Regions from separate parts of the Homo sapiens genome. Here regions 2, 3, 4, 5, 6 and 7 are each linked to region 1. The links are contacts of gene promoters, found by promoter capture Hi-C in blood cells and fetal thymus (Javierre and others, 2016). All regions are on one chromosome and are shown on one strand. Each heading gives the region's core, a stretch centred on a gene start or on the middle of the fragment in contact. The rest is flanking DNA. Distances are from core to core; before and after follow the strand shown.

Evidence for each region. Contacts are between HindIII fragments. The CHiCAGO score rates a contact against its expected background, and 5 or more counts as called.
Region 2: a contact is called between a fragment that was not itself captured here and the fragment with the promoter of BLACE in region 1, in 14 of 17 cell types (neutrophils, megakaryocytes, total B cells and 11 more). The highest score is 13.9, in neutrophils.
Region 3: a contact is called between a fragment that was not itself captured here and the fragment with the promoter of BLACE in region 1, in 3 of 17 cell types (monocytes, megakaryocytes and M0 macrophages). The highest score is 6.0, in monocytes.
Region 4: a contact is called between a fragment that was not itself captured here and the fragment with the promoter of BLACE in region 1, in 12 of 17 cell types (monocytes, megakaryocytes, total B cells and 9 more). The highest score is 8.9, in monocytes.
Region 5: a fragment that was not itself captured here is called in contact with the fragment with the promoter of BLACE in region 1 in 1 of 17 cell types (fetal thymus); the score reaches 6.6 in fetal thymus.
Region 6: a contact is called between a fragment that was not itself captured here and the fragment with the promoter of BLACE in region 1, in 5 of 17 cell types (naive CD8 T cells, neutrophils, total CD4 T cells and 2 more). The highest score is 7.0, in naive CD8 T cells.
Region 7: a contact is called between a fragment that was not itself captured here and the fragment with the promoter of BLACE in region 1, in 1 of 17 cell types (neutrophils). The highest score is 5.1, in neutrophils.

What each region holds. Positions count from the first base shown.
Region 1 is chr7:155,366,164-155,369,784 of GRCh38, reverse strand. BLACE (B cell acute lymphoblastic leukemia expressed) reads left to right here and starts at 1,852. Exons shown (of 6, transcript NR_103545.1): 1 at 1,852-1,976. All of the region lies in intron 2 of LOC105375593 (a long non-coding RNA gene), which reads right to left. The HindIII fragment of the contact is 7,901 bases long and covers 1-3,621 here.
Region 2 is chr7:154,955,624-154,959,196 of GRCh38, reverse strand. PAXIP1 (PAX interacting protein 1) reads left to right here. Exons shown (of 21, transcript NM_007349.4): 14 at 1,903-1,973; 15 at 3,566-3,573. Among named protein-coding and RNA genes, the nearest start is that of PAXIP1-AS2, 29 kb to the right of the region's middle. The HindIII fragment of the contact is 2,800 bases long and covers 673-3,472 here.
Region 3 is chr7:154,975,753-154,978,869 of GRCh38, reverse strand. It overlaps PAXIP1 (PAX interacting protein 1), which reads left to right. Exons shown (of 21, transcript NM_007349.4): 6 at 2,539-3,117. Among named protein-coding and RNA genes, the nearest start is that of PAXIP1, 26 kb to the left of the region's middle. The HindIII fragment of the contact is 613 bases long and covers 1,561-2,173 here.
Region 4 is chr7:154,934,176-154,937,537 of GRCh38, reverse strand. The region is part of intron 2 of PAXIP1-AS2 (PAXIP1 antisense RNA 2); the gene reads right to left. Among named protein-coding and RNA genes, the nearest start is that of PAXIP1-AS2, 7.3 kb to the right of the region's middle. The HindIII fragment of the contact is 3,088 bases long and covers 1-2,927 here.
Region 5 is chr7:155,776,339-155,779,453 of GRCh38, reverse strand. It overlaps RBM33 (RNA binding motif protein 33), which reads right to left. Exons shown (of 18, transcript NM_053043.3): 18 at 1-3,115. Among named protein-coding and RNA genes, the nearest start is that of SHH, 35 kb to the left of the region's middle. The HindIII fragment of the contact is 397 bases long and covers 1,187-1,583 here.
Region 6 is chr7:154,889,810-154,893,417 of GRCh38, reverse strand. DPP6 (dipeptidyl peptidase like 6) reads right to left here. Exons shown (of 26, transcript NM_130797.4): 26 at 1-1,084. The coding sequence ends at 938. Among named protein-coding and RNA genes, the nearest start is that of PAXIP1-AS2, 37 kb to the left of the region's middle. The HindIII fragment of the contact is 1,152 bases long and covers 1,487-2,638 here.
Region 7 is chr7:155,828,150-155,831,678 of GRCh38, reverse strand. No RefSeq gene overlaps it. Among named protein-coding and RNA genes, the nearest start is that of SHH, 17 kb to the right of the region's middle. The HindIII fragment of the contact is 4,824 bases long and covers 1-3,529 here.

The DNA of each region.
Region 1 (3,621 bases), core at 603-3,102:
CTTGGATCACAGAGATTTCTGTGTATCAGGAACCAACAAATACTAAGTAAGCACTTGCTGTGGCTAAATGCTTACCACATCGGCTGAGTAGGGGGTGTGCAGATGGGGGAGTCCCACAGCCCCCAAAACCAGCTACAACATCCACGTTTTACTCAGACAAGGGGCCCTCAAGCACCACCTCATGCCGAAGTGCTGCTTCACGTGAATAGAGCTAGGATTCTAAGCCAAAAGGCCTTTCTAGAACTTTCTGCATGTACCAAAGAAGCTGCTTCCACCTCACTGCCTCCTTTCCACTGTTAGTGTTCTGCTGAGGCTTCTCTTGGGCTCTGCCTCTCCCTGCCCAACACCTGAGAAAGGCCTGATCAGTGCTGGAGGCACTGGGTGGCACCTCTCCTGCGGACGTGCTTCCCACGTAAGGCAGGTATAGGGAGACCTGCCTGTCTAGAAAGACATATGTTTACATGTCAGAGAGAAACACAACACCTGCACTCTCTAACCATTTCCTGAAAGACCCCTCTTGACACACCTTAGGGGCTTCAGGGCCACACTGCCTGGCACAGCTGGTTCCCAGTGTGGACCTGTCTCCACTGCCAGCCCCTGCCCCACCCTCTCCACCTGAGTCCTGATCCCTGGTGACCAAGAGAGGCTGTGCTGCTTCTGGCCTTCACAGTAAGCCAGATGGCCTGGGAAGCGAGACTCTCTCTGCCTCCCAGCACTCCAGGCTGCAGTTGCTGTTTCATCATCCATGGGTGTAAAACACCAAGCAAGTGACATGATACAGAATGACCTCCCTGTGCTGGCAGTGGCACCACAGAAACAGGAAGACTCAGAGCCAGAAGCTGCCTGCGCAGATTGCCATTATGGAGCCTGGGAAATCAAGTCCTAGAAAGATTATCTGTTTTTTTTTTTTTTTTTGAGATAGGAGCTTGCTCTGTCGCCCAGGCTGGAGTGCAGTGGTGTGATCACTGCTCACTGCAGCCTCTGCCTTCTGGGCTCAAGCAATCCTCTAGCTTCATCCTCCCAAGTAGCTGGGACTACAGGCATGCGCCGCCATGCTTGGCTAATTTTTTAAACTTCTTGTAGAGACAAGGTCTCACTATGTTGCCCTGGTTGGTCTTGAACTCCTTGGCTCCAGTGATCCGCCTGCCTCCAGTGATCCTCCCACCTCGGCCTCCCAAAGTGCTGGGATTACAGGCATGAGCCACTGTACCTGTCCTAGAAAGATTAAAGGATACCTCTACGTCTACCTCTACCTCTACCTCTACCTCTACCTCTACCTCTACCTCTACCTCTAACCTCTAACCTCTAACCTCTAACCTCTACCTCTACCTCTACCTCTACCTCTCCCCACGGTCTCCTTCCACGGTCTCCCTCTGATGCCGAGCCGAAGCTGGACTGTACTGCTGCGATCTCGGCTCACTGCAACCTCCCTGCCTGATTCTCCTGCCTCAGCCTGCCGAGTGCCTGTGATTGCAGGCACGCGCCGCCACGCCTGACTGGTTTTCGTTTTTTTTTGGTGGAGACGGGGTTTCGCTGTGTTGGCCGGGCTGGTCTCCAGCTCCTAACCGCGAGTGATCCGCCAGCCTCGGCCTTCCGAGGTGCTGGGATTGCAGACGGAGTCTCGTTCACTCAGTGCTCAATGGTGCCCAGGCTGGAGTGCAGCGGCGTGATCTCGGCTCACTACAACCTACACCTCCCAGCCGCCTGCCTTGGCCTCCCAAAGAGCCGAGATTGCAGCCTCTGCCCGGCCGCCACCCCGTCTGGAAAGTGAGGAGCGTCTCTGCCTGGCCGCCCATCGTCTGAGAGGTGGGGAGCACCTCTGCCTGGCAACCACCCCGTCTGAGAAGTGAGGAGCCCCTCCGTCCAGCAGCCACCCCGTCTGGGAAGTGAGGAGCGTCTCCGCCCGGCAGCCACCCCGTCCGGGGGGGAGGTGGGGGGGGTCAGCCCCCCGCCCGGCCAGCCGCCCCGTCCGGGAGGTGAGGGGCTCCTCTGCCCGGCCGCCCCTACTGGGAAGTGAGGAGCCCCTCTGCCCGGCCAGTCGCCCCGTCCAGGAGGGAGGTGGGGGGGTCAGCCCCCCGCCCGGCCAGCCACCCAGTCCGGGAGGGGGGAGGGGGGTCAGCCCCCTGCCCGGCCAGCCGCCCCGTCCGGGAGGGAGGTGGGGGGATCAGCCCCCCGCCTGGCCAGCCGCCCCGTCCGGGAGGTGAGGGGCGCCTCTACCCGGCCGCCCCTACTGGGAAGTGAGGACTCCTCTGCCCGGCCAGCCGCCCCGTCCGGGAGGGAGGTGGGGGGTCAGCCCCCCGCCCGGCCAGCCGCCCCGTCCGGGAGGGAGGTGGGGGGATCAGCCCCCCGCCTGGCCAGCCGCCCCGTCCGGGAGGTGAGGGGCGCCTCTGCCCGGCTGCCCCTACTGGGAAGTGAGGAGCCCCTCTGCCCGGCCAGCCGCCTCGTCCGGGAGGGAGGTGGGGGGTCAGCCCCCCGCCCGGCCAGCCGCCCCGTCCGGGAGGGAGGTGGGGGGATCAGCCCCCCGCCCGGCCAGCCACCCCGTCCGGGAGGTGAGGGGCGCCTCTGCCCGGCCGCCCCTACTGGGAAGTGAGGAGCCCCTCTGCCCGGCCAGCCGCCCCGTCCGGGAGGGAGGTGGGGGGTCAGCCCCCCGCCCGGCCAGCCGCCCCGTCCGGGAGGGAGGTGGGGGGATCAGCCCCCCGCCCGGCCAGCCGCCCCGTCCGGGAGGTGAGGGGCGCCTCTGCCCGGCCGCCCCTACTGGGAAGTGAGGAGCCCCTCTGCCCGGCCAGCCGCCCCGTCCGGGAGGGAGGTGGGGGGGTCAGCCCCCCGCCCGGCCAGCCGCCCCGTCCGGGAGGTGAGGGGCGCCTCTGCCCGGCCGCCCCTACTGGGAAGTGAGGAGCCCCTCTGCCCGGCCAGCCGCCCCGTCCGGGAGGGAGGTGGGGGGGTCAGCCCCCCGCCCGGCCAGCCGCCCCGTCCGGGAGGTGAGGGGCGCCTCTGCCCGGCCGCCCCTACTGGGAAGTGAGGAGCCCCTCTGCCCGGCCAGCCGCCCCGTCCGGGAGGGAGGTGGCGGGGGTCAGCCCCCCGCCCGGCCAGCCGCCCCGTCCGGGAGGTGAGGGGCGCTTCTGCCCGGCCGCCCCTACTGGGAAGTGAGGAGCCCCTCTGCCCGGCCACGACCCCGTCTGGGAGGTGTGCCCAGCGGCTCATTGGGGATGGGCCATGATGACAATGGCGGCTTTGTGGAATAGAAAGGCGGGAAGGGTGGGGAAAAAATTGAGAAATCGGATGGTTGCCGGGTCTGTGTGGATAGAAGTAGACATGGGAGACTTTTCATTTTGTTCTGTACTAAGAAAAATTCTTCTGCCTTGGGATCCTGTTGATCTATGACCTTACCCCCAACCCCATGCTCTCTGAAACATGTGCTGTGTCCACTCAGGGTTAAATGGATTAAGGGCGGTGCAAGATGTGCTTTGTTAAACAGATGCTTGAAGGCAGCATGCTCGTTAAGAGTCATCACCACTCCCTAATCTTAAGTACCCAGGGACACAAACACTGCGGAAGGCCACAGGGTCCTCTGCCTAGGAAAACCAGAGACCTTTGTTCACTTGTTTATCTGCTGACCTTCCC
Region 2 (3,573 bases), core at 823-3,322, 410 kb after region 1:
GTATACAGAGGTAATTTAGGGATTGTGCCACTTGAACAACTAGCTGAGGAGAATAGTTTCATGAGGATTAGCAGCTAACACCCAAGCTTGTGTTTCTGGTTATTCATCTACTGACTTACTCGTTTTCCAGATCTCATCTGGAAGCTGCTGATAATCATCCCACGTCTCTGAGGAAGCCCCTCCAAGCCACAGTCTTGTTTTCTTCTTGCTAGTGATAATGTGATCATAGATGTATTGTTTTCCTAGCTTAAACTAGTAGTTATGATTTTAATTTTAAAGACATGACCAGTTTTGACACATCAGCAAAAGCAAATATTCTCACAGTTCTTTTAGCTGAAAGGAATTTTATGGTGGCTTTTAAGCTCACACTGGGAAAGTGGTCATCAGAGTTTTCCTCCCAAACTACATGGCCTATATTCTAAAGTTGTCAGGGGCCCCAAATGTCAGCTTCTCTTGTGGCTTTGTATCAGTAATTAAAAGCTAAAAATCTTAGAGACAAAGAGGCCCAGTTTATCCTTTTTGCCTATCCCACCATTTGTTTCTATTCTTGGTACCAATGAATGACAATTTGGAGACTTAAATGCGATCTTTGGAAATAGAGTTGAGAAATTGCTTTCTTATAAAGGCTATAATAGGAAAGTAATAAACTTTCCTGCAAATTATTATAAAGCTTGATTCTCTATGTATGACAGGGCTAATAGATTTTGAATGCTTTCTGTAGATATATTTATTTTGGTTGTCTAGATATGGCAGCAATATTTAGAAAAAATAAGTTGTAGTTGAAGTAAATTAATAAGATTGAGAGCAATTCCTTCAAGTAATAAAACACCTGGGAAAGACATGGTTGGCCCACACAAGTCAAAGAACCTCTGAGTTGAAACTATGAAGGAGGAGTCAACAAGGAATAGGGTAGAATGGAGATGCTGACTGTGGTAGGGACCCCACAAGGGAATCCCATCTCCTTCCTGCTCTCTTTGTGCTTGGCATGGCTTCTGCTCCAGGGTCAGGGACTGGAGCTGGTCCTAGTGGATGTGACCATGTTGCTGAGGCAGAGTGTAGGTTTTGGTACCTTGTCTGGCTGTTGGTAGCAGTGTTGATCTGATTGTCATGTAACATCTTTTGTGAAATCTCATAGGTGAAATTTCTCTTTTAGGAATAGTCTTTTAGGGTGGAGGTGTAATTTCAATCATGTTTTCCACATTCTTTTTTTTTTTTTTTTTTTTGAGACGGAGTCTCGCTCTGTCGCCCAGGCCAGACTGCGGACTGCAGTGGCGCAATCTCGGCTCACTGCAAGCTCCGCTTCCCGGGTTCACGCCATTCTCCTGCCTCAGCCTCCCGAGTAGCTGGGACTACAGGCGCCTGCCACCGCGCCCGGCTAATTTTTTGTATTTTTAGTAGAGACGGGGTTTCACCTTGTTAGCCAGGATGGTCTCGATCTCCTGACCTCATGATCCACCCGCCTCGGCCTCCCAAAGTGCTGGGATTACAGGCGTGAGCCACCGCGCCCGGCCATGTTTTCCACATTCTAAATTGGGACACAGGACAAAATATTTGAAATAAAAACCATTTTGAGAAGTTCAAGGTTGAGGGCTGCATATATATAACATGGAGGAAAAAAAGCAACAAAGATAATTTAAAGTACTGAAAGGATTTTGTGAATAAAGAGGGAAAGAAAAGAACAAAAAAACGATACAGAGGTTCTCTCCGGAATATTAGCTGCTTCTCCCCACTTGCATTGTCCTAGTGATCTTTTGAGGTGAAGACTAGTTCTGATGTGGTGAAGAAGAACATGATTCTTGTATATGTTTAAGTAGTTTGATTATTTGACACATAAATCTTCTGGAAGCTACTGTATTACTTAGTAGATTGATTGAATTAAAGTCGACAATATTTTAATTGCAGAGTATAAGACTACCTCCCAAACTGAAACAGAATGAAGTAGCTAATGTCCAGCCTTCTTCCAAAAGAGCCAGGTATGAGTAATAACCTTAAATTTTTCATTGCTGGCTTTCACAGGTCTGCTTTGGAAAATCGGTGGCAATTGAGGAAAGTTTCTAAAATGTTTTGCAGTAAATAAGATTTGAAAGAGTTTGCTTTTTGCTTTACAACTTTATTGGGATATATTTCATTTTAATGACATAGGCCAGTATATTTTTTATTTTAAAAAAATTCAGTCTTTTTCTTTAAGTGGCATATTATAAGAAGCCCCTTTCCAACATGTAAAACAGAAGTTGCAGTGGTGGAAGTGGGGTGGGAGGTCTAGAACCCAGCTCAGAGATAGACCACGGAGCCCCAGGCCTCCTGGGCACGGCTGAAGAACCTGCTGTACATGCCAAGAGAGCGTGTAGGCTGCCGAGAGAGCATGTAGGCTGCCGAGAGAGCATGTAGGTGCCGAGAGAGCATGTAGGTGCCGAGAGAGCATGTAGGCTGTGGCGTCATCTTGGGTATGCTCCTTGGATCTGCCAGTTCTTGATGAGGACAAAGCAATGTTGGCCACGGTGGGAAGGAGGATCCAGACCCAAAGCCTTTGGAAGGACATGTGCAATGCATATGGCATGTTGGGTTTTGGCTTGGAGTATGCAGATTGAGATGCATATCATTTTAGTGTCATGTCGGCCAGCAGGAGTCAATAATGAAGTCCTTCCAATCATTTAATTAGAAAGGCATAGCAAATGCAGGAGCAAACTAACAGAGCTTTTATTTTCTTCCTTGATTCTAGAAAACTCTTCTTTCCAGACTGTACATGGTGAAATATAACTGCTTGAATTGTTTTTTGCAGTTACCAGGTTCCTCATCTTTTCTCTCCCTGCTCCTCCTCTTTCCCTCCTTCCATTCCCCACTTCCAGAACACAAACTGAACTGTTGACTTTTGTAATAAAATCCTAATTATGTGATTTTTTTGAGGCTGTCATCAAATTACCACAAATACATTTTAAAATAAATTTTTATTGGACTGTCTCAGAAAATAATAACCTGAAAAAAAGACCTAAAAAATTCATGTAAAAAACAAAAAGGTTTAATTTAAAACGTGTGCTTGAGCAGAGCCACGTTTTTATAATTTGTGGTTGAAGAGGGCTAGAATGTGAAAGACACTGGAAGCTCTAGCGACACTCGTCTTGGCTGACTTGTATTGATGGTGAACGTGCAAACAAGGAATGGCCTGAGTCACACAAGGTTATCTTAAAAACTTGATAGAAAAAAATGAAGTGATAGAGCTAGCAAAATCAGTGATGTTTAGAAGCAACTTTGATATTTGCTTTCTTCTGAAAGCCAATTAAAAAAATTAATCAGGAGGGGATTGATGAAGAAGAAAGTATTGATCTTAACCAAAAGTGAATTGGATGCCTCCCTTGGAGGCTTCAAAGGTAGTCTTTTTTGGAAGGTGACTTTATGGAAATGGTGGAAAGAAAGGAAGGACAGATAGCTCATTGTATTTTTCCTTTAAGAATAAAAACCACATGCAGTTAAAGCTTGTTAAACTAATGAAATCCCTTGTTTTCTAAAGAAAATTTTCATTGTAAGTAAATATGAAATCACTACTATTTTATGTGTATTTCTTCCACAGAATTGAAG
Region 3 (3,117 bases), core at 618-3,117, 390 kb after region 1:
AAATTATCTTTTTCATATCCAAAATTTTCAGTGACTCCTCTTCATGGCAGTAGTTTTGTTTTGTTTTTTGGTATTTGTTAAAACAATTAAAAATAACTTTTTTTCATATTTTACTATTTCAACAGATATCTTTTTAACTTGGAAAAATCATATGTAAACCATATTACATATAGTCATATGTTATTCAAGCAGATGATATTTTTGTATTAATTGGTTCATAAATATTCTGCTGTGTACCTGGACTTCATATTTTCCTAAAATAACTTGGGTTTTTCTGGAATGGGTAGTCCAGAAATTGAAAATCTCTAGTAGAAATTTATCATCTGGGGAGAGCTATATAACATTTTATGCTTTTAAATATTTAAGAACAGCATGATTTTTTAGGGTAAAGAATAAGACATTTTATTGTCGAGGGTATAGGTAAATTGATGTACTCTTACATAGCTGTTGGAAGTGTAATTGGAATAGCCTTTTTGGGAAGGGAAGTGTAGTTAGAGATATGAAGCCTTAAATCTATTCCTTTTCAAACCTCAACACCAAAACCTAGGAATTTGTCATAAAATATAACTGCAGTTTTTCATAGTAGTGAAACACTGGAAACAACCACGTGGCTAACACTGGGGGATGAACTAAGGTACACAGCTGTGCAACCGAAGAGGAAACTGTAAAAGCCTTTGAGACTACTGGGGAGATCTGAATAGGGCCTGAGGATGAGGTGAATCATAGTTCATTGTGCTGCTATGATAATTATGGTGGTTTAGAAAGTCTTTATCAATTTGAGATCCGTAAACAAAGTTCAGGAGAAGCAAGATTTGTAAAAGATTGCCAGTTATTAAAGCTGGGTGACAGATACAAGGGATTTATTCCACTAGTCTCTAATTTGGTCTGCGTTCGAAAATGTACATTAAAAAGTTTGGTCTGCGTTCGAAAATGTACATTAAAAAGTTTGGTCTGTGTTCGAAAATGTACATTAAAAAGTTAAAAACAAAAGCATAAAAGTATACATGTTTTCATAGGAAGAGGTTGTTCACAATATATTAAGTGAAAAAGGAACATTATAAAGTATTTGTTCACTATGACTATATGTTTTTTCCCTTTGCCCTTTTAATATATGTACATATATATTTATAACAAAAATAAATTTAAACTATACCCTAAAAATGTTAATCGTGGTCCTTTCTAGTCAGTGTGATTATGATTACATTCATTTTCCTTTGCTTAGCTTCTTATTCATGGGTGTCTCCCATGACTAGGTTTTTCTTATATTTTAAAAAGGTTTGAGAAAGAACAAACTCACAAACACAAGTTAAGTCACTGAGCTGTGTGCAGAGCTCACTATTTGCAAGGATCTCCCAGATGGGCAATGCCTGGCGTTCGCTGCCAGGACCGAATGACCAACAGCTGTCCTCTCTGTGCTGCTGCCCCGCATCCCTATTGCGTGTGACTCTTATTCCACCCAGAAATTGCAAATGCCACCTTGGGGCTCTGCAACAGGACACGGAGTTTAGTTTAGGGCCCTGATTATGTGTTTGCTAGAGAATTGCTGTTATGTGTTAAGCTTTTAGGAGCACAGCCAAATTTACAACTCATTTATTTTAAGGTTACTTTATTGTCATATTACTCTTATTTAACATTTTTTATTTATTTCCTCTTTCTTTGTTATTCCCTCCCCTGTGCCTTCCACATTCTACACCCTTTACCACAGGAGAGGTCTCTGTTAGCTTGCCGAACATACTACTCCGGACACATCTTTTCCAGTGGGCTGTATTTTCTGCTTTCATTCTAACTGTGCAAATTGTCATCATTTGTGCCCCAGCCAAAGCTCACCTTTCAACGGGGCTTTCCTCCTGCCCTCCAGCTTATGTTGATGAGATTCCCTTCCAGTCTGTTACTGCATCATTCAGCAGTGGTTTTATATTGTATTTGCATTCCGTATTTAATATCTCTTTAGAACCAAATTGTGAGCCTTGTTAGGTCAGAGACTTGTTGCATCCTTTGTGTCTCCATCCCTTAGTGCTGCTTGGCATATAGCATGAGCTCCATAAATACTGGATCTTGAATAGAGCTGTCCTATGCAAGTCAGCCAAGTCAGCCATGCTCCATGAGTGTACGTGATGCATTGGCGGCACTCTGCCACGCTGTTACTTTACTAACTGTCATGGAAAACCAAGCTTCTAAATATTATCAATCAGTAAAAACTTAGGTAGCAATTATTCATTTCATAATTTTCCATAGGATTACTAGCTCTACTTTTGTACTTAAAATATCATTTTAAAAAGTTAATTTTCAGCCAAGTCTTTTAAGACTCCTGCTACAGGTGTGAGACCTTCCTATGATCACTGCTGTATGGTTCCTTTTCACTTTTGCCTCATGTCCTCTGTCTAAAAGATCAAACGTTGCTTCTGTATAAAATTGTAATAATAGTTGCTCAACATTTCAACTGCATTCCTTGACTGAGTTTTTTCTAAAATGCGTAATTGTAGGAAATGTGATAAAATTTACAGCTTTGTTTTGTGTGTGTTTCTGCTTTCCTCGTAGGAGAAATACGAATGTGCTTTAAAGCGAGCAAGTATTAAAATTGTGACTCCTGACTGGGTTCTGGATTGCGTATCAGAGAAAACCAAAAAGGACGAAGCATTTTATCATCCTCGTCTGATTATTTATGAAGAGGAAGAAGAGGAAGAGGAAGAGGAGGAGGAAGTAGAAAATGAGGAACAAGATTCTCAGAATGAGGGTAGTACAGATGAGAAGTCAAGCCCTGCCAGCTCTCAAGAAGGGTCTCCTTCAGGTGACCAGCAGTTTTCACCTAAATCCAACACTGAAAAATCTAAAGGGGAATTAATGTTTGATGATTCTTCAGATTCATCACCGGAAAAACAGGAGAGAAATTTAAACTGGACCCCGGCCGAAGTCCCACAGTTAGCTGCAGCAAAACGCAGGCTGCCTCAGGGAAAGGAGCCTGGGTTGATTAACTTGTGTGCCAATGTCCCACCCGTCCCAGGTAACATTTTGCCCCCTGAGGTCCGGGGTAATTTAATGGCTGCTGGACAAAACCTCCAAAGTTCTGAAAGATCAGAAATGATAGCTACCTGGAGTCCAGCTGTACGGACACTGAGG
Region 4 (3,362 bases), core at 134-2,633, 430 kb after region 1:
TCATATATCTGATAAAGGATTAATATCTGGAATATATAAGGAACTCCTATGACTCAACAGCTAAGAATCAACTTAATTAAAAAATGGGTAAGAGACTTGAAATAGACATTTCTCCAAAGAAGGCATATAAATGGACAATAAGCACATGAAAAAAAAGAAAGCTCAGTGTCACCAATCATTAGAGAAATGTGAATTAAAGTCACAATAAAATACCACTCCATGTTGGGAGAAAGGCTTATGGGGTGCCTGCATAAACTGGCCATAAAAATATGAGACAATAAGTTGCGGAAAGCCACAAGAGGCCTCTGAAGAAGAAAGCCTTCTTATAGCCACTATGTTCCCATGCTCTGAGCAAGACTTGCTCTCTTATCCATAAACACTGTGTTCAAGGAGAAAGACACTCCTATGAAGCATTAGAATGTGGCTAGATATGCAGGCTCCTAGTTAAGCCCGGTCCCAACAAGTAACTAAAGATATACTATTTGAGCACAAAGGAGATTCACTTAAACCGCCACTGCTATACATTACACGTATAACGCACTGTCTGCCTTTCCCCATTTCACCCCTGAACCCCTGCTTCTCAGATCTAAGTGATTGTACTCAATAAATAGTGTGGAAACCAGAGCTCTGAGCCTTTTGCAGCCTCCACATTTTGCACTGGCCCCCAGCTCCCCACCTTTCACTCTTAACTTGTCTCTTCTCATTCCTTTGCCGCCACCAAACTTTGGGTACCCGTGGGTGGCGTTGAGGCTGGACCCTAACAACTCCACACTCATTAGAATAACTACTGTCAAAAAAAAGCAGGAAATAACACATGTAGGTGAGGATTTGGAGAAATTGGACATGTGTGCACTGCTGTTGGGAATGTAAAATGGAAAACAGTATAGCATGCCCTCAAAAAATTAAAAATAGTATCAACATATGATTTAGCAATCCCACTTCTGGGTATATACCCAAAACAATTGAAAGCAGGGGCTCCTCAAGATATTTGTAAGCCCATGTTTATAGTAGCAGCATTCACAATAGACAAAAGGTGGAAGCAAACCAGGTGTTCATCATTAGATGAATGAATAAACAAATGTGTTCTATTCATACAAGGGCATATCATTCAGCCTTAAAAATATCACTCAGCCTTAAAAAGGAAGAAAATTCTAACACACACTACAACATGGATGAACCTTTGAAATATATTGCTAAGTGAAAGAAATCAGTTACAAAAGACACATAGTGTATGATTTATCCTACACTTCAAAATATAATGCTAAGTGAAAGAAATCAGTCACAAAAGGCAGATAATGTATGATTCCACTTGCATGAGGTTCCTAGAGTAGTCAAATATAAAGACACAGAAAGTAGAATGGTGGTTTCCAGGGGCTGGGAGAAGCGTGGAGAGTTATGTAATGGGCATAGAGTTTCAGTTTTAAGATGAAAAAAGTAATGGAGATGAGGTGGTGATGACTGCACAACAATGTGAATGCACTTAAAAGTAACAAACCTGTACACTTAAAAATGGTTAACGTGTTAAGTTCTGTATTGTGTATATTTCATCACAATTTAAAAACAAGGAAATGCAGAGCACTAGTTTAGCCAGTGAACTGATGACAAGGAGGTTGGCCAAGGGGAGATTCTGTTGGGAATTCATATTTAGCTCTTCCACAGGACTTTCTTTAAACTTCTCTTAAACCTTGTGTTCAAAACCTGATATGGTCTGTCTTTGTGTCCCCACCCGAATCTTATCTTGAATTGTAACCTGAAATGTAATCCCCACGTGTTGGGGCAGGGACTTGGTGGGAGGTAAATAAATCATGGGAGCAGTTACCCCCATGCTATTCTCATGATAGTGAGTGTGTTCGCATGAGATCTGATGGTTTTATAAGGGGCTTTTTCCCCTTTGCTCAACACTTCTCCTTTTGGGCACCATGTGAAGATGGACGTGTTTGCTTCAACTTCTGCCATGATTGTAAGTTTCTCGAGGCCTCCCCAGCCCTGTGGAAGTATAAGTCAAACCTTTTCCTTTATAAATTACCCAGTCTCCAGCAGTTCATTATAGCAGTGTAAGAATAGGCTAATACAGTAAATTGGTACCACAGAGTAAGGTGCTGCTATAAGGATACTCAAAAAATGTGGAAACAACTTTGGAACTGGTAATAGACAGAGATTGAAACAGTTTGGAGGGCTCAGAAGAAGACAGGAAAATGTGGGAAAGTTTGGAACTTCCTAGATACTTGGAGGGTTCAGACGACAAGGAGATATGCGAAAGTTTGAAACTTCCTAGAGACTTATTGAATGGTTTTGACCAAAATGCTGATAGTGAGGTGGACAATGAAGTCCAGGCTGAGGTGGTGTCAGATGGAGGTGAAGAACTTGTTGGGAACTAGAATGAAGTTGACTCTTGCTATAGTTTACCAAAGAGACTGGTGGCATTTTGCCCCTGCCCTAGATATCTGAACTAGAGAGGGATGATTTAGGGTATCTGATGGAAGAAATTTCTGAACTTTAGAAATTTCTTTAGAATTCTGTTTTAGAATTTTGACTTCTAAAGCAAAGCATTCAAGAGGTGACAGAGCATAAAGTTTGGGAAATTTGCAGCTTGACAATGCGGTAGAAAAGAAAAACTCATTTTCTGGGGAGAAATTTAAGCCAGTTGCAGAAATTTGCATAAGTAACGAGGAGCCAAATGTTAATCACCAAGACAATGGGGAAAATGTCTCTGGGGGATGTCAGAGACCTTTGCAGCAGCCCCTCCTATCACAGGCCTGGAGGTCTAGGAGGCAAAAATGGTTTCATGGGCCAGGTCCAGGGCCCCCCTGCTGTGCGCATCCTGAGGACTAGTTGCAATGCATCCCAGCTGCTTCAGCTCTAGCTGCGGCTAAAAGGGGCCAAGATACATGCTCAGGCAATTGCTTCAGAGGGTGAAGCCCCAAGCTTTGGCAGCTTCCACATGGTGTTAGTCCCTCAGGTGTGCATTAGACAAGAATTGAGGTTTGGGGACCTTCACCTAGATTTCAGAGTATGTATGGAAACGCCTGGATGTCCAGGCAGAAGTCTGCTGCAGGGGTGGAGCCCTCATGGAGAACCTCTGCTAGGGCAGTGCTGAAGGGAAATGTGGGGTCAGAGCCCCCACACAGCATCCCCACTGAGGCATTGCCTAGTGGAGCTGTGAGAAGAGGGTCACCATCCTCCAGACCCCAGAATGGTAGATCCACTGATAGCTTGCACCATGCACCTGGAAAAGCCAAAGACACTCAAAGCCTGCCGTGAAAGCAGCTGGCGGGGGGTGGGGGGCTGTACCCTGCAAAACCACAGGGGCAGAGCTGCCCAAGGCTGTGGGAGCCTACCTCTTGCATCAGCGTGACCTGTAT
Region 5 (3,115 bases), core at 136-2,635, 410 kb before region 1:
ATAGCTGAAAAAGTTAACTGAAATGCTCTTTAAATACACTAAAGTATCTAAGCCTCTCCCTAGTCGATCTGGACTAGCGGCTTTCCGAGTGGTGGTAGTCGGGTGCCTCCGAACCTTTCCTGCCCTGCACACACTCCTATCAGTCAACTCCCTGGTAGAATCGTCACCTCTAATTTTTTGAAAAACCAATAATACCTTTCGAGCTTTCTCTCGCCCACCCCCCTCCCTCCCACTCCAAATTAAAAAAAAAAAAAATGGGGTGGAGGATCATAGCTTAATGAAGGGAAGCCAACCTGGGTCTAAAAGCGATTACGTCAAGCCATAGCTGAGGCCTACAAGTAGGGAGGGAGGGTAATAAAAAAACGAATCCCAGGAAGAGCACCACGAAAGCGGGAAGCCTGAAGTCACCCACAAAGGGCACTGCAGACACCGCACCAGGAATGTTTCTTAAGAGCTGGCAGTCCTCTCCAGGGAGAGAGCAGAGGAGGGGAACAGCCGCAGGGACTAGAGAGTTTCTAGGACTCCACGATGTGCCGGCACAGCATGCTGCCATCACACACGCTGACCTCCTTGTCCTGTGCAATTACATGACTAGGACCTGCCTTCGACAAGCGTCTGATGGTCTATGAGCACATTCCGCTTACCTTCCCAATAAAATAACAAAGAAATACAAAACAAAACAAACAGAACAAAACAAAAACAACAAAAGCCAAAAGAAAACAAGTGATGAGTGATGAGTTCTTCAAACCCATCCCAGGACAAGGCTCCAGGGCCTCGGGGGTCCCTCACCTGCCCTACCTGAACTGTCCCAGCTGATCACCACCCAGTGAAGACGTTCCCCTCCCCCACTCCTCCAGGCCATCCAGCGGATGCCCCTGTGCCGCCAAACACCCTGGCCCAAGGGCTCTCAACTCCACCGACCGGACTGGATGACCTCCCCTGATAAGCCAGTGTGTTAGAAGCAAGTTGATTATTAACACTGAGATGACAGCTTCCCCAATCCCCAGGCCTCTCCTCACCTGGGTCTGTCCATCCCTTCCTCCTTTTCACCCTAAACTCCTCTTCCACCTCCTTCAGTAACAAAGCCTTCTGTTCACAGAACTGAGCAAGATGCTGTTTGAAAAAAAGACCCCTGGGTGCAGGATCTAAGCTCTGCCACAATTCAGAAATGCCACAGAAGCAAGCTTCAACAACTGTTTGCCTGAGACCTTTACAAATCATGCTAAGAATGACCCATATTAAAAATAGTTATGGTGAAGCCACCTCCCGCCCCATCCCATCTCCTCCAGCAAGGCAGGGTGCGGGTGCCTACGGAGGCTGCTGCCTGTCCACAAAACAGAGAAACCCCTCAAAATTTGTCTGGAAAAATGATGAGATTTACTCTTTAGAAGAATATCAGTATAAGGATTTAACAAACGTGGCCAGACCAGTGGTAATGCAAGGTTATCTAAAGTAGCTAAGTGAACTTCTATTACAGCACAAAACCAAAACAAGATAATGCAAAAAGAAAAGAAGTAACTTGGCTCCACATAATCAGCTATTGGTTTACCTTATGAGATACTGATATTTACGACCTTTAAGCTTCTTGAATTTGTGAACAAATAATACACAGATCAGGATAAATGTATTGACTTACTACCATCTTTATAAAAATCGAATATACACACAAACACATCAACAACTGTGGAACTGTATCCATTAAACTTTGATAAGACAACACAAAGAACTAATAGCTAAGATGTGGCTGAGTTGAAAGCACTTCCAATAGTATTTTAATTTTAAAAGGTCCATATTTACATGGTATGCTAAATGCTCTTGCATCTCATTTTAAATGCATGATGAACTCAAGAACAAAGATAATGGTTGCAGCAGATCTTCCACGAGGGTTTGGCTGGTGTGGGCTGACTTCACGTGAGCAGCATACCAAACACCTAAGTACCATTCCTTTCTCATTCTGCTTCTTTCCTTTTCTGTAGTTTCCTTCAAGGAAACTAAACCTTCATTACTGGGATTGTCTGGTACTAAGAATCCATTTTCGATGGTTGTGGGTATTGAGTGAGGTCGGACTGTGTTGGACTGTTCTAATCAGCGCTTTAAGGCGGGCCTGCATGACTTTGCCAATCACCTTTCAAGAACATTCTATGAGAAAGTCTGCCTATGTGCACGTGTAGACAGTTAGAGAAACACGCACACCCCAGGGCCTGTGTCACACTCAGGTAACACCAAAACAGACCTTCCAGTGGCCATGAAGTCCACCTTAACAATGAAGGCCCAAACAGGATCCGTTTTATTAACACTGACTACAAAAAAGTCTGTTTCAATGCCTACTTTTCAGAGACAACATGCATATTTTTGGTTTTAAACACAGCACACTCTATTTCAAAAAGTGTTTAAAAAAAAAAAAAGTCATGAAACTCATTTCATTGTATCAGTAAGCCCTCAATGATAAAGTAAGTCGGTAGGCCTTCCCACTGCCCAGTGGGTACTGAGTGGTTTGGATCTCTCTTAATTAGAGCTCAAGGGCTACCAAAGTCACCACTCCAACGCAGCTGTGGACTGAGCCAAATAAACTAGACGAAATACATCAACACATCCGTATCTAACTGTGGAAATGAGTGGGCAGTGACAGCCATGGGAACCTGCTGATGGGCACACAGACCTGCTCCCTGGACAGCCTCCTGCAGGCATGGTGAGGCAGGGCTGACTGGCAATCCCATCTTCCGAGGGTTGGCTGGGACACTCTGGAGCAGAGGTGGCGGCAGCACAGCTGCAGGGTCCTAGCAGATCCTACAAGCGCTGTGGCTTCCTGGGACTGACTGCTGCAACAGCCCCTGCAGCGTGCAGTGTTACTCTCAAGCACACAGCAAACGCCACTTTAGAATCACTGCTACAGAAAGGATCGCAGGGTCTGGAAGACCTGCTTCAGCTCTTCAGTTTGTTTTGGTAACTTAATTTGAGAAAGTAATATAAAACGTCAACTGTGGAAACGAGATGACGCAAGTCTGTGCCCGTCTCCTTAGTCCCTTCCTTCTAGGAGGCTGAGAGCCCTAGCGCCATGCTCCCTCCAGGGGCAGTAAGAAAGAACGGGCTTCTATTTCCCTTAATTCTATTAGTA
Region 6 (3,608 bases), core at 813-3,312, 480 kb after region 1:
CCAAGGAGGACAAGGATGGTTGTAAGGACGGATGTAAATAGACAGTGCACACCTACAGCCAAGCCCTAGCATAGCTGAGTGGGAGAGAGGTTTTATTTAGGTATTTCTTTTAATGGGTGCTATTGGCTGTCTTCCCCCTCAGTGTTTAGGAACGTCCCCAAGACGTCTGAAGACAACCTTGAGGAGGGAGCAGTTACTTCCGATCTGCTTCTTCATCAAGCGCAAAGTCTACACGTGGACTGGAGAAAGGAAAGGGAAACAAGGCCCAACCCCAAACAGCAAAACAACCCCATGACGGAGACAGTGGAGCATCAGGTTAAAACCATAGAAAAATACGAGTTAATTCTATCAGGTTAACCATTAGCGTAGCTACAGTAAGACTCTGTACAGAAAAGCGTTTTCTTGTAGCCCCTCACCATGTTGAACGTCCTCATTACAGGAAGTAGCAAGCCCATATATGAACACGCACTGCTAAAACAATGGTGCTGTAACTGCTGCGTCCATGGCACTGCGACGTGAGACAGGGTGTGATGTCCCTAACGGGAACACAGAGGCTAGTGTGGGCGGGTCTCATGCTTCCGCTTGGTGGCTGGAATCTAGGGGCCGGTGTCCTGTGGGCTCGCGTGGGGCCTGCGGCCACCATCCTTTGCTCTGTTCCTTGGGGGAGGGGCCGTGGCGTGCCGGTCTCTCGGGCGCCGGGAGGAGGCGCTGCTGCGGGGACAGCGTTGTCCCTGGTGCCATGGAGGCCGTGAGTGATGACCCCGGGGAAGGAGCTTGTTTCCCAAGCAAAACTGCCTTCCGCATCCGAGACACACATGCTATGGAACACCCGGCCCCGCCCCGCCCCGCCCCTCCGAGGGAAGAGGGAGGGCAGGGAAATCCCTCGGTTGCATCTGGTTGTAGAAAGAGCCACGTTTGTGCTTAGAGCGACCTGAGCTTAGTCCTCCTCCTCGTCCTCTTTCGCTGTGACTGTCAGCAGTTTGTCCTGGATCCTGAAGCATTCCACGAAGAAGTTGATGATGGACCGGTACAGATGCTGTTTGAGGCTGGAGCTGGTAAAGTAATGGCTTTCGTCCGGGTAAATCTGCAAGGAAGGCACGGAGAAATTACTCTCCCAGGTATACGCTCCCCAGGGGACGGGAACGCACAGAAGGTGTGGAGTTTAGTGAAACCTGGGCCCCGTCCGGGGCTGGATTGTAGTTGATGAAGTGGGTTTGCTAACCATGCCACTCCTGATGGAAGTGCCTCTTCCTCCTGGGAGATCTGCCTGGCTGTCCCAGTCAGAGGGGCGCCTCCCCTAGCGTGGACATGCACCACCCATTCGTGAAGCCAACCAGCCTTCAAACACCACCACGCCCCCGGTGCCTGGCCCTCTCCAGGCACAGCAAATGCTCAGTGGGAACTGGGTGAAAACATTGGGAAGCTCTTCATTCAACACTCTACAGTCCGGATCTGCTTGCTTGAATTTGCAACATGGATACAAGCTTAGGGACTACAGAGCCGCAGCCCAAGTTTTCAGGGTGTCAGGCTCTGAAAAGAAATAGAATTTCATGCCTGTAATCCCAGTGCTTTGGCAGGCCGAGGCGGGAGGATCACTTGAGGTCAGGAGTTCGAGACCAGCCTGGCCAACACGGTAAAACCGTGTCTCTACTAAAAATACAAAAATTAGCTGGGCATGGTGGGGCGTGCCTGTAATCCCAGCTACTCGGGAGGCTGAGGTAGGAGAATCACTTGAACCCAGGAGGCGGAGGTTGCTGTGAGCCGAGATCGCGCCATTACACTCCTATGCTCTCTCAGTTACACTCTGAGTGTGGGAAACTCCCGTGGAAGGGCTGCGTGCTGTCCTGGGTGCCCACGGGCCCACCCCACAGATTTTGCGTCCTGGCTACTCCCTGTGTGACTGTGGAGGTTAACTTGCCTGAGCCTCGGATTCCAGGTGTGTCGGGTGGGGAGGATAATCACAGACTCCAGCTCATGACACTTTGTGAGAATTAAACAATCTTATAGCCGTGCCGTGCTTAGAATGAGGCCTGGAATGTGGGCTCATTCGGTCCCAGATGCCAATAGGATGATGGCTAATTATTCTACTGCCAATGCGGTGATGCCACCATCTCCTAGGAGCACCGTGAACCATCTGTGCACGTGCAGGGATTCAAAGCCTGCATCTTATTTTTTTCTTTTCTTTTTCAGACAGGGTCTCACTCTGTCGCCCAGGCTGGAATGCCATGGTGTTACCATAGCTCACTGCAGCCTCAACCTCCTGGGCTCAAGTGATTCTCCCACTTCAGCCTCCTGTGTAGCTGGGACCACAGGTACACATGACTACGTCCGGCTATTTTCTAAAAACTTTTTGTAGAGATGGGGTCTTGCTCTGTTGCCTAGGCTGGTCTCAAACTCCTGAGCTCAAGGCAATCCCCGCACCTCAGCCTCCCAAAGTGCAGGGACTACAGGTGTGAGCCACTGCATCTGGCCCAAAACCTACATCTTTCTATGACACTAGACTGCCTCTTCCTGCCTTCTTTGTATGTTTTTGGAGGGTGAAATTCATCTTTATTTTGAAGTATTTATTAATGCTGTCATTAGGCTATGATATGTCATTAAAACATCAAGTAGTACAAGAGGATATGGGCAGGAAGCTTTCTCCTCCTGCCTCAGGCCCCCGTCTCCCGTGCTCTTACCTGGGGCTGGGCCTGGCTCCAGATGCATGGGGTGTCTGTGAAGGCCTTTGCTGTGCCCACATGTGTGTCCCTGGGTGGGTCCTGCTCCCTGATACCCATGGAGCCTGCAGCGATGCAGGCTGCTCTGTACCTGGGGGGTTCAGCTCGCCCCATATCTTGGGGAGTTGCCCACATGAACACATACACATGGACCTTTGGAGCGTCCATGGTCAGTGTGCTTAACACTGCCATGCAACTGCCACACTTACTTTGAAAAAGTCTGAAATCTGAACGTCTTTCACAAGGGAACTCAAGTGTGGTGTAACCCCGTCCTTCTGCCCCTCTTCATCCACACTGGGGTCCAACTCCCTTCTGGCTGGAGCTCTCCCTGCCTGATCAAGCCCACAGGTGGTCCCTCCCTCCCACAGGCAGGGATGCTGGAGGCCAAGGCAGTGATCAGCCCAGGGCAAGAGCTCTCTGAGGGAGGCAGGGTGCCTGCCTGTCATCTGTCCCCAAGGAGCTCTCCCATTCATTCATGTTGGACCTGAAGAGACCATTGGGTCATACCTGTTCCACCAAAGGAGCAGAAGGCAGGAAGGAAATGGCAGAAGTTTCCAGAGACATCCCTGTGCATTACTGGGAAGAGCCCAGGTTTGAGGCTGCTGGGTCAGCACTTGATGCTGTTGTGGACGGGCCACGGGTTGGTTGTGGGAAAGTGAGTTCAGTTCTGGGAAGGGTACCCCTCTTTCACTACTGCCTAGCTACAGATGGCCCCAGGACATCCTGCTAGTGCGTAGTAACATGTGGTGTTGGTCAGAGGGAAGCAGTGGGGCAAGGCTCAGGGCCCACCAGCACCACTCTCACCAACCCAGAACAACAGTCCCACTCTCCGCAGCGGGATAGCCCCAGCCACACTGCTGGGCAGGGTGGGTGCTGGCTTGGTTCTTCTCA
Region 7 (3,529 bases), core at 131-2,630, 460 kb before region 1:
CCGAGCCGCGCAGGATATGAAGAAAGGAGAGGCGTGCGCGGTCAGCCCACCCTCTTCCTTGAGCGTCTCTGCCAGGCTCCAGGCTGAGGAGTGGGGACCACCGTCTGATCTCTCCGTGGCTCAAGGGTTTCAGGCTGGTGACCACATCGGTATCTATGGCAACAGCCCCACCACGTTCGCATCCCAGAATCGGACCTCCTGGCCCAGGCCGGGGTCTCCTGACAGCGGAGGACTCAGCCAGAAGATGCAGAAGACCGCTGCTGGGAAACCCGCCGGCCTCTACCCAGCTCCACAGGCTTCTGCCCGGCTCCACCGGCTTCCCTCTCCCTCCCTGAGGCTTGGTGTCCTCCTCTATAAAATGGACAGCCCCGGCTGCCCAGCCTCCCTCACTAAATTGCCAGAACGAAGGAGGTGCTTTGAGAAGTGACAGGCACTGTGCAAACCTCAGGGGCCTCTCCCCTGTCACTCACAGGGCACCCGGTCCGCAGAGCCTCACCTCCTCGGGTGCATCCGGGGTGCTGTTCGGGCAGTGGCTCGGCAGAACCAGCAGCCAAAGTGGCTGAGGGCAGAGTCCCTGACCCCCCGACAACCCGGTCAGAACTCACTCTCCCTTGGTGCCCGGAACGCAGAGGCGCTTCGGAAACAAGATTTCTCATCTGGGTAATTTCGGGATGGCTCCTTCGCCTCGGAACCTGACTTCACTGCCGGGGTCCGCCTCTTACCCCATCCCTGTCTGCCCCCTGCACGCTCAGCCCACTCCTCCCTCCCAAATGTCCCCAGCTCTCTCAGGTCCTCCACCTTGACTGAGAATTCCAGATTTACAGCCTGGGCAACATGGCAAAACCTCACCTCTAAAAAAACACAAAAATTAGCCTGCCACCTAATTAACCAGGCACGTGCCTGTAGTTCCAGCTACCTGGGAGGCTGAGGTGGGAGGATGGCTGGAGCCCAGGTGGTCAGGGGTGCCATGAGTCAAGATCATACCCTGCCCTCCAGTCTGGATGACAGACTAAGACCCTATCTATCTCAAAAAAAAAAAAAAAAAAAGACAGAGAGAGAGAGAGAGAGAGAATTCCAGATTTTGGTCCCGCTCATGTAATTCCCAATTTCACTTGGCAAACGTGGCCTCTCCCTGACTATCCTCCAACTTAGCATCAGTGAGGCCCAGAAATGGCAGCACAGGGCAGCCAGCAGGGTGTGGTGATGGAGCTGTTGCTGTAAGGCACGTGGATACATTGATGCCAGAGGTCACGTCCCCCTTGCCCACCCCTCCCAAGGAGGACGTGCAGGGCTGGACTGGGTGAGAGCCTCACTGATCCAGGGCCTTGGACTCCTCCCCTGGCACGCACAGTGGGTGGTGTTTTACCCATCCTCCTACGAGTCACTCCTTTCCAAGTGCCACATCCCCAGAGGACGTGCCAGGTGCGGCTGCTGACTGCGCTGGGGCCCCATTAAGGCATCTGTCTGCCTGACTGCACAGCTTAGGTCATCATTGGACGGGGTAGGACCCCGTGGACCCGGCTTCCCTTGCATCTCTCAGCTCTTCTGGGAAGGAGGCCACCTCCAGCACTAGCCCAGGAGACGAGTCAGTTACTGGCGTCAGAAGGGGAGGCCCACCAGAGAGAAAGAGAGAGTGGGCCCCTTCTCACTGGAAGGAGGGGACGGCCTTTGGGCAGCCCTGGGGTGTGCACCTGCTGGCACCTGGCCTGGCATGTGCTCCAGGTGCGGGAGTGACTTGGGGTGCAAGGCAAGGCTCTGTGCTGAAGGCTTCATGTGGGCACTCTGTGTTCCAGCTTTATGGAGGAAAGACTGAAATATAAAAATCATAGGTATTTAGTGCGTGCAACATGGTCTTTTGTATAAGTACACACTGCGAAATGGCCATGACAATCAAGCTGACTAACACATCCAATAGCTCACACGCTTTCCATTTTCCTGTCTTAAGAACACTTGAGATCTACCGTCTTTGCAAATTTCAGATATACTTTATTACCGACTATAGTCACCCTGCTCCCCGTTGACCCTCCAATGATAACTGAAACTTTGTACCTTCTGAGTAACAGCGCCCCATTCCCCCAGCCCCCAGCCCCCAGTAACCACCATTCTACAGGCCCCAGCCCCCAGTAACCACCATTCTACTCTCTGATACTATGAGTTCCATGTTTTCTTAGATTTCACATAGAGGTGAAATCATGTATATTTGACTTTCTGTGTCTGACTTATTTATTTCACTTAGTATAATGTTCACCAGTTCCATCCACGTTGCTGCAAATGAGAGGATTTCACTGCTTTTTATGGCTGAATAGTACTCCATTGTGCACATACACTGCATTTTCTTTATCCATTCATCCACCAGTGGACACTTAGGGTGATTCCAAACCTTGGCTATTGTGGACAGTGTTGCAGTGGACATGGGTGTGGACAGCTCTTGAGGGCATTGATGGCATTTCCTTTGGGTACATGCCCAGGAGTGGAATGACTGGTGATATGATTTCGATTTGTGTCCCTGCCCCAATCTCACGTCTACTTGTAATTACTAATGTTGGAAGAGGGGCCTGGTGGGAGCTGATTGGATCATGGGGGTGGAGCTCCCCTTTTCTGTTCTCATGATAGTGAATGAGTGCTCACAGGGTCTCGTTGTTTAAACGTGCATAGCACCTCCCCCTTTGCTCTCTTCCTCCTTCTCCAGCCATGGAAGAAGTGCCTCCTTCCCCTTTGCCTTCCGCCATGATTGTAAGTTTCCTGAGGCCTCTCCAGCTAGGCTTCCTGTACAGCCTGTGGAACCATGAGCCAATTAAACCTCTTTTCTGTACACATTCCCCAGTCTCAGATAGTGGTTTGTTTGTTTTTTGGGTTTTTTTTTTTTTTTTTTTGAGACAGAGTCTCGCTCTGTGGCCAGGCTGGAGTGCAGTGGCGCAATCTCGGCTCACTGCAACCTTCCAATTCCCTGGTTCAAGCGATTCTGTTGCCTCAGCCTCCCGAGTAGCTGGGATTACAGGCACACACCACCACGCCCAGCTAATTTTTGCATTTTTTTAGTAGAGATGGGGTTTCACCATGTTGGCCAGGATGGTCTCGATCTCCTGACCTTGTGATCCACCCGCCTCAGCCTCCCAAAGTGCTGGGATTACAGGTGTGAGCCACTGTGCCTGGCTCAGGTAGTTCTTTATAGCAATGTGAGAACAGATTAGTACCACTGGATCATATGGTAGATCAAATTTTGGATTTTCAAGAAACCCTATACTGTTCTCCACAGTGGTTATGCAGTCTTGATAAGTCAAAATAACCACAATGTTGAATAAATGAAGCAAAGCGTGGCAGCCTGTCCACATTGTCACCTCCTTCTTCTGGTTACAAAGTCTCTCTGTGGACTTTGTGCCCACCTGGCAGGGCTTTCCACTGGAAGTCTCCTCCTGGAGAAGCACTCTGCCCCAGCCAGAAGAGCGAGAACCCCAAACTGTGCACACAGTAACCGGCCCAGAGGAAGCACGTGAACCAAGAAGGCCAAATCCAAGCCTCTTAGGGAAAT